2 separate regions of the Homo sapiens genome follow, and region 1 is linked to region 2. The links are contacts of gene promoters, found by promoter capture Hi-C in blood cells and fetal thymus (Javierre and others, 2016). All regions are on one chromosome and are shown on one strand. The core of a region is centred on a gene start or on the middle of the fragment in contact, and the rest is flanking DNA. Distances in the headings are between cores, read along the strand shown. Region 1 holds the start of LOC124904886 (a long non-coding RNA gene). Region 2 holds the start of TM9SF4 (transmembrane 9 superfamily member 4).

The links. Contacts are between HindIII fragments. The CHiCAGO score rates a contact against its expected background, and 5 or more counts as called.
Region 1: a fragment that was not itself captured here is called in contact with the fragment with the promoter of TM9SF4 in region 2 in 1 of 17 cell types (M1 macrophages); the score reaches 6.0 in M1 macrophages.

What each region holds. Positions count from the first base shown.
Region 1 is chr20:32,480,552-32,487,023 of GRCh38, reverse strand. All of the region lies in intron 4 of NOL4L (nucleolar protein 4 like), which reads left to right. LOC124904886 (a long non-coding RNA gene) reads right to left here and starts at 994. Exons shown (of 2, transcript XR_007067564.1): 1 at 903-994; 2 at 1-510. RefSeq lists silencers at 3,500-3,659, 4,020-4,129. The HindIII fragment of the contact is 316 bases long and covers 1,709-2,024 here.
Region 2 is chr20:32,106,307-32,112,954 of GRCh38, reverse strand. It overlaps TM9SF4 (transmembrane 9 superfamily member 4), which reads right to left and starts at 3,241. Exons shown (of 18, transcript NM_014742.4): 1 at 3,200-3,241. The coding sequence starts at 3,214. RefSeq lists enhancers at 2,235-2,977, 3,141-3,320, 2,978-3,722, 2,725-3,924. The HindIII fragment of the contact is 7,759 bases long and covers 1-4,909 here.

The DNA.
Region 1 (6,472 bases), core at 617-3,116, 380 kb before region 2:
GTGCTGGGATTACAGGTGTGAGCCACTGCACCCGGCTGTTATTTCTCTTTCATCTTATCGTTTAGAAAGTCAATTAGTGACAATGAATGTTTTGTAGAGTCCAAGACTGTTGTGTTGTGGAGTTTCTCTTTCTGGATTTCTTGTCTGGTTGTCTCTTGAGGAGCAGATTCAGGTGAAGCATGTTGGGGGAGCACATGGCTCAAGTGATGCTGTGTCTTCCAGTGCCTCCCTTCAGGAGCCGAGGACATCATGTCTGGTGGCCCCACTTTGGAGGCTGCTGAATTTGATGACTTGATTGGGAAGTGTCTGCCAGATCGCCCCATTGCAGGTACATTTTCTTCTCTGTCATTAATAAGTCATTTGTGGGGATAATTTTTTTTTTTAATGTTTTGACGTGCTTGAACAGTGTCTGCTCTGGTCACGCTAAGATCCTATTTGTCCTAATAATGGCAAACCAGAGTCCCATGGCCAGGTCCCCACTTGTGGGACATGCTTACTTCATATGGGAAGCTGCATGAAAGAAAGGGGTTTGCTGCTTAAAAAGCCCCATCAGAGCATACCCTAATCATCTGTTTACAAAAGCACCCAATGTCTTCAGAGGCTGGAGGGGACCTGTGGCAGCATTGTCCCCCCGAAGCAGATGGGATCAGCTTTCTCTGCCATGGTCTCCTACCAGGCTGGGGCCAGAAGAAGGGACACATCACTGGGAGAATTAGTGGTCAAGAAACTAGGTCACCCGATTCCTCATTGGGACTCATGCTGTGGCCACTTTAAGGAGTGGGGGAGTGGCACAAGGACACTGAAAACAACCTATACAAGGTTACTCCAGGAGTGGCAGCTCCTGTAGGAATAAGGATCTGGGAGATTTCTGAGGGCTTCAGCACACACACATGAAAACTCACCTCATTTGCAGTGCCGCTCAACAGCCAGGTTTCTGCAGGGCTCTCAACTGTTTTCTGTGGGTTGAGCAGGGCTGGGCTGTTTTATCTCAGGGATAGTAAATGAGTTCACGTTTCATGCCTACAGAAAATCACTGCTCTGCCCTCCTGGGCGGTACTAGCTCTCTTTTATTAGTCAGAGAAGAGGTGGGTTATCTGGGTTCAATTCCACCTTTGAACTTCAGTTGTATTTGGCTTTATATTTCAAGCTCAGATGTCCACCACTGCTGTGAAATAGTAATTCAGGCCAGGAGAAGTCAAAGGTCTCTGAAAATGTGGTGGGGAAAGGGAAATCCTGAGTCTGAATTATCTCATTTTCAGAGTGAGGATGGACAGTTCCCGCGTTTGGAAACACATTTCCTGGATGAACTTAAGAGCTGTGGCCACTAGTTCGTTCTAAAAATCATTATTGGGCACCAGCATGTGTGGATAAATAAAGCCTCCCACCTGCCCCACATCACCAAGGATGAGAAGATCCAGTAAACTGGGGAGAGTGAATTGGTTTGAAAACACATTTGATTTCAGGAATAAAAGGTGCAAATGAGTAAATGTGCCTAAACCCTCTTTTAAAAAGAAAGTGTGAGTTTTCTATTGACAGCAGAGTCTTGAGCATGTGCGGAAGGAAGCCTGCGTGGCGCTAATGTGATGTCTTGTCATCATTTTATTTTTCTGACGGGTAAACGCTGGGCTCTGAACCTGTGGGGTTGTACTTCGCACTCGCGGCTGTAGAGGGAGCCTTGTTTACCATGGATTGTTCACAATGCAAAGCTTTCAGAGGAAGAAAGAAAAAAGGCTTTTTACAGAAAAAAAGTTGGAGGGTTAAAGGCAGTCTGTTTCAAAATTGCAAACAATCGCTGTGGCTGTCTCGTTTTCTCTTCTCTGCTGGTTCCACCGTGAATGAATGGTAGCGTAAAGAGTCAGTAGAAATTGCCCTTCCTCTTCGGATGCGACCAGAGGAATCAGGAGGTGGGATCCTTATCAGGGTTTTTTTTTAGTTGTTTTTTTTTTTTTTTTTTTTTTTTTTTTTGGCAATTTCCCCACAGAATTCCACGAGGGCAGTTCCCCATCCTTGTTGAAGCACAAGCTTTTTTCGAGGCTGATCTGTGGTAGCGGAGGGTCTGGATTTGGAGGGGTGGGGTGGGAATGGATCCCCTGACCCATTTTCTCCATCGGGGTCTAATTCTGCGGTTTGGTGATGAGAGTGTTGCTTTTCGGGCCGAGTCCGAGGTTGCTCGGAGGTCCAGGGCTCCCACCCCGCGATGCCAGTCCTGCCTCCTCCTGCGCCCCGGGCAAGGGTCTGTCCGCCTGGGGGACCGCATCTGGAATCCGCGTGGCTCCCCTCCCCGGCGGTGCCGTCTCCACGGACAGTGCGTGCCCGGGTCTGGGCTGGAGCGACGTCCCCGAGATTATCCTATTACTTTACAACTGTGGCTCGCGCGCCGTCAGGACCCGGCCCGGTGTGGGCTGGCGGAGCACAATGACCGGCGGCGGGGCGGGGGCGGGCACGCGGGCGGCGGGCGCTGGGGGTCGCGTAGATGTTTGGGTCGAACAGGTGAGCGCCTCCCGGACACTCGGGTGCCCGCGGGGGGCGGGGAGGAGGGCGGAGGGGGTGTAAACTAAGTGGTGGGAAAGAGACAAAGGAAGAGTGAAGAGCGAGACGGTGCGGATGGGGAAGGGGGAGGGGCGCGGAGGGGCAGCCGGTGGGCAGCGCGCCGAGGAGCTCGAGCTTGAACTTGATCAAGCACTGGGGGCCCTGCCGTGGGGGTGGGGCGGGGGTACGGCCGAGAGCCGGCCACGTGCCTGGCTTTCCCAGCCCGGGGTCTCGCTCCGGCCGCCCGGGGGAGCCGAACCCCGAGGCCCGGCAGCCCCGCCCCACAAGTACCCGCGTCCCTGGGGACCCGAAAGACGCATGGGGGTCGAAGGCTGCCCGAAGGGGCCCCGGGCGCCGAGAGTTCCTGAGGGTGCCTGAGTCACTTTATTTGGGCCAAGTCTCCCTCTCCTGGCCTGACCGCAGACAGCCCGCCGGGTGCCCTCTCCCCCCAGCCCCCACCGGACCCAGAGACCGCAGCCTCCGGGAGCGATGGGTAGGCACAGATCCCAGCGCCTTCTTTCCGGGCTCAGCCCCGTGCAAGGATCTTCCTCGAAGCGCTTCCCCCTTAAGAGCGCGCTCCCCACCGAAGCGCACGGCGGCGCGTCCAGCGCGCCCTTATCCCCCCCTACCTGGCCCAGCTCCCCCTCCTTCCTCCTCTTCTCCCCCCGCGCCTCTCTCCCTCCTTTCTCCTCTCCCCTCTCCCTGGGTGCCTCCTTTTCCTCTCTCCCCTTCCCCCCGTGCCCACTCCTCCCTCTCACCCGCCCCTCCGCCACCTCCTCCTGCTGCTCCTCCTACTCCCCCTGCCTGCGCCCTCCCTGCGCTCCCCTCCCCCCCGCCCCCGCCCCGTGCCCGGTCCCGCCCCCTCTCCCGCCTCCCCGTGCCCGGTGCCCCCTCCCCCTTCCTCCGGGCCGCGGCGCCGCCGCCGCTGCCGCCGCTGCTCGCCTGGGCCCTCCTCCTGGCCACCCCCGCCCCCGGGCCGGGCAGTGACGCGCCGCGGTGGTGCCAGCCCCTCTCCCCGGGCAGCCGCGGCGGCAGCAGCAGCAGCAGCAGCTGGAGCTGTGGGGCTGTCACCGCCGCCCGCCCCGCTCACTCGCGGATCCCGACCGCCCATCTCCGCCTCGCTTCCAGCCCAGGTACGGAGTCCGGCCCGGATCCCGGCGATCGGGCCGTTTCCGGGGCCCGGGCCGCCGCCCCCCTTCTCCGGCTGCTGCCGCCGGCCGTTGAGCTGCGGTTAGGGGGGCGAGGGGCTGGGGGCGGTTCTGGGGAGGGGGGCGCAGGGGGAGCTTCCTTTGCCGGGGCTGAGGGAGGGGGCGCGGGGGAGCGGCTGCGCCCTGGGCCGAGTGGGCTGGGGCGGGGGGCGGGTGAGTGTGCCCGAGAGTGGAGGGGGGGCGATGAAGGCTGCACTGTGGGGGCCGCGGGGCGCCCAAGAGGTGTGTCTGGCCCTGAGCGCCCAGGGTCGCGGGGCGCACCCCACTCCCGGGGTGCGCGCCGCGGGTCCTGGGGGGCGGTGATTGTGCGCGCAGCGCCGCGGTATTGTGCCACGGCCGCTCGGTGTGCAGCGGGCTCGGCACCGCGTCCCGGCGAGGGAGGCGTTCTCTGGCGGCGGGGCGGGGGCCGGGCTCGGGTTGCCGCGGCCGCCACGAGAAGGGAAGTGGACTGTGTTTGGGGATGTGAGGACGGGAAGCGTTGAGTGTCAGGGAGGGGTTCCCCGGCGCGGCGCGGGGAGTTGAGACGCGGTTTGCAGAGTTGAGCCCACTTCAGCAGGCCCGGGTCCCTCCCGGGAGGGGACGGGGTGTCCCTCTCAGGTGCACCGTCTGACCGGAAGCCGCGGGCGTTGGCGGCCCCTGGCGAAGGGGCCTTCCTTAATGAGGGGACACGGCGGGGCGGGGGCAGCCGGCCGCCTCGAGGGCGCGCGCAGGGGTTAAGTTGGATTTACACCTCCGCCCTCTCTCTCCTCCCTCCACCTTGTCTTCAAGGCTGGACACTTTGGATAGGGAGGAGGGGGGAGTGCAATCCGCATTTTTATTCCAGCCGCTCGGGAGCAGAAGTGACCCTGCTCCCACCCGGAGCTGCGTTTGCCCGAGTCCGGCCGCCCCTACCGGGCTGCGCTTCCTGGGGGAAGTTCTCATTAAGCCTCGCTAATTAGCATTATTCCTGTAGAAAGGTTAAGGTTAGACCGTCCTTTTCCTTATGGGAGGCCCACCCCCTCCTCCCCATTCCCTACTCCCTCCCCTCTCCCCAAGAGCACAAAAGCACAAAAAGAAAGTGTGAAGAGGCTCAGATCAATGGAGAAGCCACAAACCCATTAATTCAAATGGAACCTTTTTTCCCCCTCTAAAACATTGATTTTCCTTTCTGTCTGCTCTGAGGGGAGATGAATAACCTCCTGATTTCACCTGAAATGGTGTTTGGACTCTGTGATTTCCTCCTCTTTCTGAGAAGGATTGTGGCTTGAAATAGATTCTCCCTTGAGATAAAGCCCTACTTATCCCAGAATCAGCTGGCAACCCCAGCCTGCTCCCCCCCCCCCGCCCCGCCCCACCAACTCACACACACCAAAGGGGGTGTGGGGAGAGGTGTTTGGGGGACCTCATGGCTCTTCTGGGGAGAGCCATCTGTGTGATGGGACCAGGCCCCTGTCTTGACCCCTGACACAGGCCGGATTCTGGACTGAGTTGGTCTGGGGAAAAGGCCCGTTTATGGCCCAGGCCCTGTGGTAGTTTAGCCCCCCGGGTAGTAAATTACCCCTTCATTGGAAAGCCATTAGGGCCTAAATGTGTCCTTGAATAATATCAAGCTCCTGTCTAATCCAGGCTCAGGCTGGGCTTGCTTTATAGAGCAGGGTTTTAAGACAGCACCTCTTGAGCTGGGCGACACCACCCTATTCAGCACCTTCCTGCCGCACAGTGGGAACAGAGCTCACTGCGGCCTTCCTCCCAGCTGAGAAGACGGCCTTCCTCCCAGCTGAGAAGACGCCTTTGGGGAACTTTTCCTGCGGCCCCTACCCTGGGGCTCTGTGGAGCTGGACCGCCTGGGAATTGCTCAAGAACTTTTTCTGTGTTGTCTGGGTTCCTTTCTTGGAAGGACAGCCCTGCAGGGGATTAGCTCACAGCGGCTCCCTTCCAGCCTTCCTTTTGGCTGGAAGATCCCTGTCTGCTGAAGCTCCTCTCTCCAGCTTCACTTTTAAAGAAACCCCCATTAATGGCAGGGTCTGAGGGTACCAGCGAGGCCCTCGTGGTGAGGAATGCTGATGGGGAGCAGCCAGGTGCCTTTGCTTAGGAACAAAAGCCTGTTTTCCACTTGATATACAGTGGGAAGGTGTGGGAAATGCTCACTTCCAGCATCCAGGTGTCTATGACAGCAGGGACAACAGAGGACCACATGTAGATGGGAATACGCTTCTGACAGACACAGTGTGCGTGTGAGTGAGTGTGAGGGAGAGAGAGCGAGAATGCCTCCAGTGTGGTAGGTGATTGGCTGTGTCTCAGCCCTTCCTGCCTCATATTTCCCAGAAGAGCTGGTGCTTGCATGGCTAGTAAGCAGAGGAGGCATGTTTGCAGGAAGGAGTGGAATTGTGCAGGGAGTGCTGGAAGGCTGGCCTCCTTCCCTGGTGGCTAGGTGGGCTTGGGGTGTAGCCATGAAGCAACAGCCTTGGGACCCCACACCCCCCAGGAGCTGTGGCTCAGACCACCCTCCTGTTTCATGTGTGCGGCTCCTTCACAACAAGGATTTGAACCCCTGTTGCTTTAGATGCTGGGGGTTTTTCGTCTTCCATTAATAAGCCATCTGATGAACTGAAGTGGTTAAGTTGGGGTCACATGCGGTTCAGTACCTTCTTGGCATGCTCAGAAGGCTGCGTGTGTAATGCTCGCTGACATGGAGACAAGGGGGAGAGTCGCCTCGTGTGGAAGAATGTCCAGGGCCTGGAAGGGGCCTACAGGTG
Region 2 (6,648 bases), core at 1,992-4,491:
CACTTTGCCCCTTCATCACATACCCCTGTAATAAATTTGCTTCCACACCTTTTCACTATTGCACCAGATATGAAGTTTCTCCATATGCACCCTTTAAACTGGCCTCTGTGGGTCACTGCATATGTTACATACTCAGTTTCTTTAAATCAGTTACTGTTTTCAGTACAACACTCCCAGGTGGCACAACAAACACTAAATCACCGTACTTGCAGGGTTTTGTTGGTGGTGGTGTGTTTTGTTTTTTGTTTTTTTTTTTTTTTTGAGATAGGGTCTCACTCTGTCACCCAGGCTGCAGTGCAGTGACACGATCTTGGCTCACTGTAGCCTCCGCCTCCCGGGTTCAAGCGATTCTTGTGCCTCAGCCTCCCGAGTAGCTGGGATTACAGGTGTGTGCCACCACACCCTGCTAATTTTTGTATTTTTAGAAGACAGGGTTTCGCCATGTTGGCCAGGCTGGTGTTGAACTCCTGGCCTCAAGTGATTTGCCTGCTTCAGCCTCCCAAAATTCTGAGATTACAGGCATGAGCCACTGCTCCCGGCCTGTTGTTGTTTCTTAAGACAGGGTCTCGCTCTGTTGCCAAAGCTGGAGTGCAGTGCAGTGATCAGGGCTCACTGAGGTTCAAGTGATCCTCCCACCTCAGCCCCGCAAGTAGCTGGTACTACAGGTGCACACCACCAAGCCCAGCTAATTTTTTCTTTTTGTATTTTTTTTGTAGAGGGGTTTGCCATGTTGTCCAAGCTGGTCTCAAACTCCTGAGCTCAAGCGATCTCCCAGCTTTGGTCTCCCAGAGTGCTGGGATTACAGGTGTGAGTCACTGTGCTGGGCAAAAATCACTGTCCCTTCCACTGTGCTTAGACTAAAATCCAAACTCCTTTCCACAGCCTCTGTGCCAACTGAGAACAAGCTGGCTCCCTTCAAGTACTGTCCTGAAGGGGATGGGAAGGGGAAGCAGCCTAATACAACACTATTTCAAAATGCAATCCACAGACAACAAAATGTAGACCGCAGTCCTTCCCATTTCCAGGCATGCTTCTCAAAACAGTTGCTCTTGCTTCCCTCCAGTTTCATCTTGTATCATTCTCTCCTACCCCAACCCTCATCATGCTTCGGCCCCTCCAGCCTTCTGTGTGTTCCTCAAAAACACCAAGCTCCCTTCCACATCGGCCCCTTACACTTGCCATTTCCTTTGCTTGGAACATTCTTTGCATGGCTGGTTCCTTCTTGTTAATTATGTTTTAACTCAAGTCACCTCCTCTGAGAAGACTTCTTTCTGACCACTCAATCCAAAGTAGTTGTGTCACCCAGTCACCCCTAATCACTATCACTTCATTTTGCTGTCCTCACAGCATCTACTGGTGACATTATTTTGTTCACGTATTTACTTGTTCACTGCCTGTCTCCTCAAACCAGAAAGGCTCCACAAGTGTAGGGACCTTGACCCTGTAATTCACAACTACATCCCTAGTTCCTGGAACAGAATTGGTACTCAAATATTTGTTGACTAAATAGATGTGTACCACATATATGTATTGCTAGCTTATAACCTCTTAAAAATCTCTGAACAAGGCAGGGATTTCCCAGTGCAGTGCCGTAAATACCACTTTACTCAATGTTTTCCTTATAGCAAGAGAGGGTGTGATTTCCTTTTAAGTTCTTACACTATCTCTGTTCTGAATGTGGTACCAGAATATATATACATATATGTAGGTTTCAACATACTACTTTGAGGATTTGCCCCACTCGTGGTTCAGCCTGAAGTCTGAAACCACAGAAACCAGGTAAGGCCATGAAATCTTTTTACCTGACCTCTGAAGTTCTAAATAAGGAATCCCTCATTAAACAAAGGTAAGTTCTCAGTCAGCTAAGAGAAGGAGGGAAAATTGCTACCAGTCAATAATATATCCCTGTTTGGAGAAAACCAACACCAAATTATTTAAGCCAGAATCTTCCTTTGCTAAAGTCAAATGTCATTTCCTTTTCTCTGAGTCTTCCTTGTCATTCACTCCCCGGACGAAATTATCTGCTGAGGAGGCAGTATGCAGGAAGACCCAGGAAATCATTCTGGACTAAGTGACTTCAATTTTAGTTCTGGTCTCTTGACAAGCAGAATTTGAACTAAACTTTTAGAAAAAGGGCCAGTCCTTCAAAGATTTACTTCCAAGGTTCTGCACCAGGAGCCCGCAAGCTCTGACCCAACTTCCAAGCATGGCTATTTTACCTCCACCCTCATCCACACACAGACTTCATCCCAACATATAGCTTCATAATAAAGAGCCTTCATCCCTAACGAGCTGTGTGGCCATGTTGGGGAATGGGAAGGAGAGCAGTGAGGTGGGGCTATTAGTGTTTTTCAAAACGTAGTTCACAGACCACCTCCACTATATAATCACTAGAGTGCTTATAAAAGGGCAGATTCCTGGGCATCACCTAGCCCTATGGAATTAGAATCTCTGGGAGTGGGGCTGCTCAGGAAACTGCATTTTTAGCATGCCTCCCCCTACACACCTCGAGATTCTTATGCACAGTAAAGTTTGAGAACCAACAGGGTAAAAGGTCCCTAAGAGAGGGGCAGGGAGTTGACTGAGAGAAGACAGGAAGGGCAGGGAAGCCTCTAGGGATGAAAGATGGGGGTGGGGTAGGTGAAGGCAAGCTCTGGGGTAGCGGCAGTCAAGGGGGTGCGCGATGGGGACAGCTATGAGTGTAAGTGAGGACAGGGCTCTGAAAAGGATCTGAGGCAGCGCTTGGGCTGGGAGGGTGGTCAGAGGAGAGGTCACATCTGCGGACTGGTTATGATGGTGGGGAGGCGGGGAGAGCAGGGTCTGGACGTGACGGGGAGGAGCAAGGATGAGAATAACGGGAGGGGGTCTTCAGAGGGGTCAGGACAGGGAGGTGAGAAATGGAAAATGGGGCTCACAGTGGGCGGAGACCAAAAGTAGAATGGGAACCGGCGAAGGCAGCAGCCGAGGTCTTCCTCCGAAACGGCGCCTCCCCCAAAACTCGGGGCCTTCACAAGCCTGAGTGCAGGGGCAGGGCCAGGGAGGTGGATTTCGGGGAAGACAAGCCCAGTCAGAGGTAGCCCTCAGGCCTGAGTCAGGGGTCCCGGAGGTGGCTCAGGGCCAGGCATGGGGTGCTGGAAGATCCTGGGATACCCCGGAGGGCCCCGCTCCAGCTCCCGCTCCCGGAGTCTCCTTCACTCACCATCGCCGTCGCCATCTTGGATCCACGTGTCGCCGTAATGACGTCAGCGGAAGTGGTGCTCCCTGGTTACGGAGTTTAACTCCACAAGGTGGTCGTCTGGCTTCAACCGCTCCTGTAGTGGCGGTCAGCAGAGGGGAAAAGGAGTCTTAGCTCCTGCTCGACAGTCTGGTCTGGGAAAGTAAGGTCGCTGATTAGGTGAAGAGAGAGAACGGTGTAACTAAGGAAGCCATATTAGCTCCTGGCAGAAACTGAGCCTCCCTTATTCCCGCTGCATTGTGGGTAATGGGGGTGTGCGAAAGTGCGCTCGTGCTCTCAGCGCCATCTTTACTACTGGCAGGAAGACCCATTGCCAGGGTTACCTGAGACCTTGATTTGAGGGAAAGGGTGGGCACTGGGGCTCCAAGAGCAGTACGACTCCAAGAATAATTTGTAATTATATATTTAAGTATTTGTTTGATTTTAAGTATTTGTTTGACTATCCTATATCCTCTTTAGTAGACTGTAATCCCCATGAGGGTGGACCCTGTTTTTTTGTTTGTTCGTTTTTTACCTTGCTCTTCCTCATTCCCATCTGTGAAATGGGAAGGGGGTTGGTTCATCATAGGCTTGTGATGAGGATTCAGTGACACAGTATTACATAGGATGTATTCAATAAATAATTGTCAGTATATGTTTATGTATACTCCTTTGGGCTTGTGGTAGATGCCCAATACATTATTTTTTAAATGAACGAGTGAAAACCAGCATATTCAGTGGAGGGAGATATCTCTGAATGTGGACGTCATGCACTAGCTTAGTGTGTGACTCCAGACAAGTCACGCAATCTTCCTAAGCCTCAGTTTCCAAATCTGTGAAAAAGAGACTCAAAGAATCATGGTATTAAGGTTGGGAAAGAACTCAAAGTTCATTTGACCCATGTATATCACTTTAAACTGAATACAGTACCAGTGCTATCTTAGACTGTTTTAAAAAAGCTATTAAAAGAATAATAATGATTAATAATAATCATCAGCACTTGCCGAGCATTTTGTGTGCTGCAGCACTTAGCATTATGCTAACAGTTCATTAGACTCTTTTTATCTAATTCTAGGGGGCAAGGGACAGTTGAACTCTGATCCCCACCTATGGGCACCACTGTGGTGGATTTTCTGCAAAGATGGCTGCCACGTAGTTCTGTCCGTCCTTGCATGATGAGCATACGGTTTCTCTCCTCAAGAGATAGACTCTGTTTTACCTCCTGTTGAATCTGGCTGGTCATGTTGGTTGCTTTGACCAATAGGATGTGCTACAAGTGATTCTGCCAGTACTGAGCCTAGGCCTTAAGAGGATTGAAAACGTCTGATTCTACCTTCTTGGTTATAAAGAAGTGTAGCTACTCTGCTGGAAAGGCACCTGGAGAGAGAGGGAGGCCCAGCCAACTCCTCAAGACATTCTAGAAACTACAGCTAAGCACTATAATATGTAACTGAAGTCATCTTGGACATTCCAACCCCCACTGAGCTACTAGCTGAATGCAGCTACATGAATAACCTCATGAACACCATGTGGACCAAAAGAACTGCCCAGCTAAGCCCAGCTTTAGAGTGGGGTGGTTTATTATAGATCATTTCAGTAATAGATCATTGAAACACACACCCATTAACTCTTGTGACCTGCACAACCATCCTGAAGATTGGCAGATTGGCTATTAACCCCAAGGAGGAGGAAGCTTGAGAGACTAGGGGGAATTTGCTGCAGTCTCATAGTTTCCAGACTTGGAACCAGTTTTCCTAGAGCTTCGATCCTGAGTGTTTCCCACCATTTCTAGCTGCCTGAAGAAAGATAACTGATAAGGAGCAAAGCTCCATAAATGGCCTATTATTTTTTAGTATTTCCATTTTTTTTCTCATGCTTTGTATTTTTCCCTAAAGGCCTTTCATATCCCAATCTCTTTTGGTGACATATGCCAGAATCCTAGAACTAGACTGCCTGGGTTCAGAACGCATTTCCACCACTCATTAGCTCCATAACATGGGCAAGTTTCTCTTTTTTTTCTGAAAAAAATTTTTTTTGAGATGGAGTCTCACTCTGTTGCCGAGGCTGGAGTGCAGTGGCGCAATCTCAGTTCACTGTAACCTCTGACTCCCGGATTCGAACAATTATCTTGCCTCAGCCTCCTGAGTAGCTGGGATTACAGGTGCATGCCACCAAGCCCGGCTGAGTTTTTGTATTTTTAGTAGAGATGGGGTTTCGCCATGTTGGCCAGGTTGGTCTAGAACTCCTGACCTCGAGTGATCTGCCTGCCTTGGCCTCCCAAAGGGCTGGGATTACAGGTGTGAGCCACTGGACCCGGCCTAAATATTTTTCATTGTTGTAAAATATGCATAACTAAATATTGACTATTTTAATCATTTTTAAGTGCACAAATCAGTGAAATCAACTACATTCACAAAGTTGTCAATCATTACCGTCATCCGTCTCCAGAACATTTTCGTCATCCCTAAAAATGAATATCCACATGCAAAAGAATGAAATTGGACCTTTATCTCACACTATATACAAAATCAATTCAAAATGGATTAAAGACTTATAGGGCCAGAAACTGTAAAGCTACTAGATGAAGACATAGGGAAAACTTGACATTGGCTTGGGCAATGATTTTTTGGATATGACACCAAAAGCACAGGAAACGAAAGCAAAAATAGACAGGTGGGATTGCATCAAACTAAAAAGCTCTGCACAGCAAAAGAAACAACAGAGTAAAAAGGTGACCTCCAGAGCTGAGGAAAATATTTACAAATCAAAAACGATCTGATAAGGGGTTAATATCCAAAATATATAAGGAGCTTAAATAACTCAATAGCAAAAAATCCCAAATAACCTGGTTTAAAAATGGGCAAGAGATCTAAGCAGACATTTCTCAGGAAACAGACAAATGGCCAGCAGGTAAATGGAAAGGTGCTCAACATCCTTAATCATCAGGGAAATGTAAATCGAAACCACAATGAGCAATCATTTCACACCTCTTAGAACCATTATTATCAAAACGACACATAATAAGTATTGGCAAGGATGTGGAGAAAAGGGAACTCTTGCATAAATTGGTACGGTCACTATGGAAAACAGTATGAATGTTCATCAAAATTAAAATTAAAAATGGAACTACCATATAATGCAGCAATCCCACTTCTGAGTATATATCCAAAAGGAAATGAAATCAATGTCTGCACCCCCGTATTTATTGCAGCACTATTCATAATAGCTAAGATATAGAAACACAGCAGCTGTAAACTATAATCTATGTTTAATATAAGTATATAACTATATATTTATAAATATAAAATATATATAATATTATATATAACTTTTTAAAAGGTTTATTTATCTATTTATTATTTATTTGAGATGGAGTTTTGCTTTTTGTTGTCCAGGCTGGAGTGCAGTGGCATGATCTTGGCTCACAGCAACCT